2 separate regions of the Homo sapiens genome follow, and region 2 is linked to region 1. Evidence: promoter capture Hi-C in human tissues and cell types (Jung and others, 2019). All regions are on one chromosome and are shown on one strand. Each heading gives the region's core, a stretch centred on a gene start or on the middle of the fragment in contact. The rest is flanking DNA. Distances are from core to core; before and after follow the strand shown.

The links. Contacts are between HindIII fragments. The study calls those that stand out against the background at their distance.
Region 2: a fragment that was not itself captured here is called in contact with the fragment with the promoter of ZNF347 in region 1 in 1 of the 25 tissues and cell types used here (adrenal gland).

The regions. Positions count from the first base shown.
Region 1 is chr19:53,157,527-53,160,452 of GRCh38, forward strand. ZNF347 (zinc finger protein 347) reads right to left here and starts at 1,527. Exons shown (of 5, transcript NM_032584.3): 1 at 1,483-1,527. RefSeq lists an enhancer at 1,430-1,724 and a silencer at 1,460-1,709. The HindIII fragment of the contact is 7,458 bases long and covers 1-2,926 here.
Region 2 is chr19:51,860,939-51,863,864 of GRCh38, forward strand. It overlaps a transcript of ZNF577 not described here and the pseudogene LOC100419706. Among named protein-coding and RNA genes, the nearest start is that of ZNF577, 26 kb to the right of the region's middle. The HindIII fragment of the contact is 3,923 bases long and covers 1-2,926 here.

The DNA.
Region 1 (2,926 bases), core at 277-2,776:
TCTGGGGCCTTGTTTCAACTCTGATTCCTCTTTCTCCCCAGTCTTTTCATTGTCCCCAGTCTCCATATATTTCTGCCTCTTTCTTCTCCCATCTCTGCTCCCTCTGTTGAATCTCCTCTTCCCTTCTACACCTCTTGCCCCACTCTCTGGCACCCCCAGATCCCAGGCCTCCCCCTGCTGTGGTTCTCCTTCTGCTCTCCTCGTCACCGGCTGTCCCCTCTTGCTGTCCCAGCACCACGCTGCTTGTCTGCCCTGGCTCCAAATCCCTCCTCCTCTCCCGGACTCTGTCTGAGGAGCCTCCCACTTTCTGGCCCTCTCCCTACCTTGCTGTCCTTCATGTCTCTGGACATCGAGCTTTTCTCTACATTTCCCCAGTTGCTTTTCTCCTTCTGCCTTCTCAGCTCCTTCTCTTACCATCTGCAAATCCCTCGCCCATCCTCTACTTTGCCATCTGGTTACGGGTTTCCCTCACTCTTTCCTCTCAGTTTTTCTACTTCTCTCTCTGTCTCTGCCCCTTTCTCTACCTGCTAATCCCCTTGGTCCACACATTCACAGGAAGGTTTGGACTAAGACGCCTGCATCTTGGAGGAGCGCATTTTCCAGGGGCTGGAGCTGGGCAGGCAAGAACACCGGGTGTCACAGGACAGGCCCCGGGCACCTCCCCAGCGCGGGCTCAGGAGAAGCGGGGACTGCGAAGGGGAGGCCTGGGGAGCAGCAGGGCCCGGCACGAGGAGGAGGGAGGTGGCGGGGCGACGGCGCCTTAGAAGAGGGGTGGGGTCTGCAGGATGCCAGGACCAGGCAGAGGACGCGGCCTCGCCGGTACCGGGGCTGAGGAGCTGCGCTCCAGGGGCCGACGAGGGCGAGGCTGGGAGGCACCCAGGGCGGGAATCCACCTCGCGGGCGAGGACTTTAAAAAGCCCGGGGCGGGAGGAGGGGTCAGGAAAGGGTTTTAAGCGGGAGGAAGACGCGAAAGGCCGGGGACAGGGAGAAGCCTCAGAGCTACTTCAACCCAAAGAGAAGCGACTCCGAACCCACACCGCGAGTCAGCTGGGGTGGAGGGCGCGGTGCGGGGATCTTAAGGTCTGTAGCTGCCGGGCGCAGTGGCTCACGCTTGTAACCCCAGCACTTTGGGAGGCCGAGGCGGGCGGATTACCTGAGGTCAGGAGTTCGAGATCAGCCTGGGCAACACGGTGAAACCCCGTCTCTACTAAAAATACAAAATTAGCCGGGCGTGGTGGCACATGCCTGTAATCCCAGCTACTCGGGAGGCTGAGGCAGGAGAATCGCTTGAACCTGGGAGGCGGAGGATGCGGTGAGCCGAAATCGCGCCATTGCACTCCAGCCTGGACAACAAGAGTAAATCTCCGTCTCACCAAAAAAAAAAAAAAAGAAAAAAAAAAAGGTCTGTAGCGAGCCCGGGAACTGGCTGCGGAAACGGGGCACGGCGGTTCGCAAGTTTAATCCATACTGAGGGACACTCACGCTCGGCGGCGTCACCCGCACCCAACACGATCCGCTTCCGGAACTGCAGAAAACTGCGCGTGCGCGGAAAAGAGCCCGGGCACTCTGGGGGCGGGGCCTGGGGAGAGGCGGGGTCTGCGGACGAAACGCTGGGGCGGAGCTGGGGCGGGGTCTGCGCTTCCCTCAGCCTGCCTAGCCCGCAGTCTCATTTTTCCCGGTTTAGAAACGCTGGAGTGTTCACTATGTCCCCGGGAGCACCGTTCCAATTTGAAGCAGTTTTAAGGTGAAAGAATAGACTTACGTGGACCACTTATGATAGAAACCAAAATGATTTCCTCTTACCAAGTTGAAAACGGTTTATGTTAAAATTGTTTGCCGGCGGGTTGGACCCAGTCCTGCTAGGGAGTCTGCTGCAGCTCAGGAACGGGGATCTGGGAATCGGGGATCTCGGTCTGGGAACTGGGATCTTAGTGGAGGATCCACGAGGCACGGCGATTGGATCCAGCAATTCCTGCAATTAAAATGTATTTAATTTAACTAAAATGTCTGGAAATTATCTCTGAGGATGATTCAAAGTAGAATGGGAAATGCAGCATCCTACCTGGACGGATATGCAATTTAATGCAGTAGCCCAACAGAACCTCCTTTACATTTCAAATCCCCATTCTCCCCAGTGGAAGAGTCAAGCCTGTGCTCAATTCATGGGAAGGTTAAGGCCGATAAGTTAGATCACCAAGGGCTGCTTTATTGTTCTTTAAAACATATATTTTTGTAAAGATGGGAGTCTCGGCCCAGGCTGGTCTCCAACTCTTGACCTCAAGCAATCCTCCTGCCTGGGCCTCCAAAATTGCTGGGATTACAGGAGTGAACTACTGTGCCCAGTCAACTACTGATTTAAACCATGTGAATTTTTAAAAAATAGAGATAAACTGCATTATTTTTGCTTATATTCGTTATTCCGTTCCACACTTGAAATGACTTAACCACAAACAACTTTGACATAATCTTTCTTTGCATCAAAATATGCTTAAATCAATAATTTCTAAATATCATGTAATTTCAAATTCACTTTATGGGCATTCTGAAGGGAACTTGACACAGTACTTTTTATTTTAAAATTGTAATCTATATTGGGTCTATTTTTTTGTTTTCTGTTTCTTAATGTTCTATCAGATGTGGATAACAGAGTGTGGAAAATAGTCACCACATGACAATTGGATTTATTTTCGCCTAAAGAATAGTTTTCCAGTATTTCTAACGTACCATCCCAGTACATTGACTGAACTAAAGACTCACAGGGATACCCTTTTTTCATGTTTATAGAGAACCTAGTTTATACCTGCTATTGTCTTATGTACATTTTCATGTCACACAATTTTATCTCCAAACAACACCCTTATTTATATACACCGTATAGTTTTCACTTTAACAAAATATTAAACGTTTCATCTGGGTTACAATATAT
Region 2 (2,926 bases), core at 251-2,750, 1.3 Mb before region 1:
ATTCCCTCCATCTGTAGGGTCCTTCTCCTGAATGAATACCCTAATGTGTAACAAATATAATTTGAGAATGATTTATCATTTTCATTACATCCACTGGTGCTGCCTACTAAATGGAAAGCTTCTAGTTTTCTAATAAACTTTTTTGACAATCACTGCACTCATAATTGACTCTCTCTTTTTTTTTTTTTTTTTTTTTTTGAGACAGAGTCTCACTCTGTCACCCAGGCTGGAGTACACTGGTGCAATCTCGGCTTACTGCAACCTCCACCTCCTAGGTTCAAGAGATTCTCCTGCCTCAGCCTCCTGAGTAGTTAGGATTACAGGTGTGCACACCACACCTGGCTATTTGTTTTTTTTTTTTTTTGTATTTTTAGTAGAGACAGGGTTTCATCATGTTGGCCAGGCTGGTCTCGAACTCCCAACCTCAAGTGATCTGCCTGCTTCAGCCTCCCAAAGTGCTGAGATAACAGGCATGGGCCAATGCGCCTGGCCAATGATTCTTCTTGTGAGATCTCTACGGTAAACGAGGGATATCTTCAAAAAAGAAGGCTTAAAATATTCATTGCATCTATAAGGTTTCTCTCCCACAAGAGTTCCAAAAGGGCCCATTACAATCATAGTATTCATGGAACTTCTATTGTGTCTGAGCTGATGTGACTAATCAAAAAAGCTCTCTCATATTCCAAGTCACTGCATGGACTTTCTTCCTTCCTGCTGGGGTTTCTGATGATTAGTAATAGCTGATTTCTGAGTAAAGCTTTTTGACATTCACTGCATCTATAGGGCCTCTTTCCTGTGTGAGTTCTCTGGTGACCAATGAGAGTTTACAAAGTAGCGAATGCTTTCTTACAATCACTGCATTTATATGGTTTCTCTCCTGTATGAATTCTCTAATGTACAGTGAGACAGGATTTAACTATGATGGCTTTATTACACATGCTACATTTGAGGAGTTTCTCACCTGTATAGGTTCTCTGTTATATAATGAGAGTTGACTTACAGGACAAAACCTTCCCACATCCACTGTATCCATAAGATTTCATTCTTGCATGGCAAGTTTTTCGATGCTTACTGAGACCTGTCTTTTGGGTGAAAGCTTGTTGACCTTCATTGCATCATAGGGTCTCTCTCCTGTGTGAATTGGCTGATGAGTCATGAGATATACCTTACTGGAGAAGGCCCTATCACAGTCTGAGCATTCATATGATTTATTTCCTATATGAGTTCTCTGATATACAATGAGATTTCCCTTTGATGTGAAGGCTTTATCACATACATTGCATTTGAAGGGTTTCTCACCTGTATGGGTTCTCTGATGTATAACAAAGTTTTTTTTGGAGGATAAAACCTTCCCACATTCACTGCATTCATGGGATTTCCTTACTGCATGATGAGTTTTCTTATGATTGTTGAGATCCAACTTCCAGATGAAAGCTTCTTGACATTCACTGCATCCATAGGGTCTTTCTTCTGTATGAATTCACTGATGCTTCATAAGCTGAGCCTTTTTCAAGAAGGCTTTCTCATAATCCAAGCAAGCATATGGTTTCTCTCCTGTGTGAGTTCTCTGATGTATAGTTAGCTGTGTTCTAACCATGAAGGCTTTATGATAGACTTTGCACCTGAAAGGTCTCTCTCCTGAATGAGTTCTGAGATGCAAAATGAGGTTCGACTTCCAAGGAAAAGCTTTCCCACATTTACTGCATCCATAGAATTTTCCTTTTCTATGAAGAACTTTCTGAGGATAACTGAGCTCAGATCTGGTCTTCAAAGCTGTTTGACATTGAATGCATTAATAGGGTATCTCTCCTGTGTGAATTCACTGATGAATCATGAATAAAGCCTTTTTTGAGAAGGCTTTTTCACAATCTGAGCAAGCATATGGTTTCTCTCCTGTGTGAGCTCTCTGATGTACAGTGAGATGTGTCCTAACCACAAAGCCTTTATCACATACTTTGCAAATGAACGGTCTCTCTCCTGAATGATTTCTTTGACATAAAATGAGTTCTGACTTCCAAGGGAAAACTTCTCCACATTTGCTGCATGTACAGACTTTCCCTTCTCTATGATGAGTTTTCTGATGATACACAAGCCCTGAATTTGTAATGAAGGCTTTTTGACATTGATTGCATCAGTAGGGTCTCACTCCTGTTTGAGTTTGCTGATGAGCAATGAGCTTTAACTCACTGGGAAGGGCTCTCCTAAAATCATGAGATTCCTGGGATTTGTTTCCTGCATGAGTTCTCTGAGGCATGGTCATGAGTAGTTTACAAGTATTCACTGCACATTCACTGCATCCATATGATTTCTTTCCAAAAAGAATTGGTTATAATTAGCAAGCTCTGACTTCTGGATGTTATGAAAGCTAGTGTACGCACAACAGAGTAAGTGAGATAACAAGAAGAGGTCCAGAAAAAGGCTTCTTTTCCCATTTACCATAAAAAGATATTAGTAAGATGGTTAAATTTGAGTAAGCTCTGTATTTTAAATAATAATACTATATCAATGTCAATATTCTGATTTTGATCACAGTATTCTGATTATGCAAAAGAATGCTCTTCTTCCTATGAAATACACACTTGGGTTTTAGGGTAGAGTTCAGAAAAACCATATGTACCTGTGTGTGGTGTGTGTGTATAGATAAAATAAAGCAAATTGGTAAAATCATATTTTGGGGAAATTTGCAAAAAGAATGTGCAAGAATTTTGTGTATCATTTTGGAACATCTCATTAAATCTAGACCATTTGGAGACAAGCATTTTCAAAAGGAGAAAATAAAAATAAAGATATTGATGAAAACATACATAGGGACACTAAGTATAATGGCCTGAATGTAAAAGAGATAAACAGTGTAATATTCACCCAATGCCATTCTGCACAGGACTCAGATTCTTGATCTAGGTGCTGGTTGCACAGTGTGCTGACT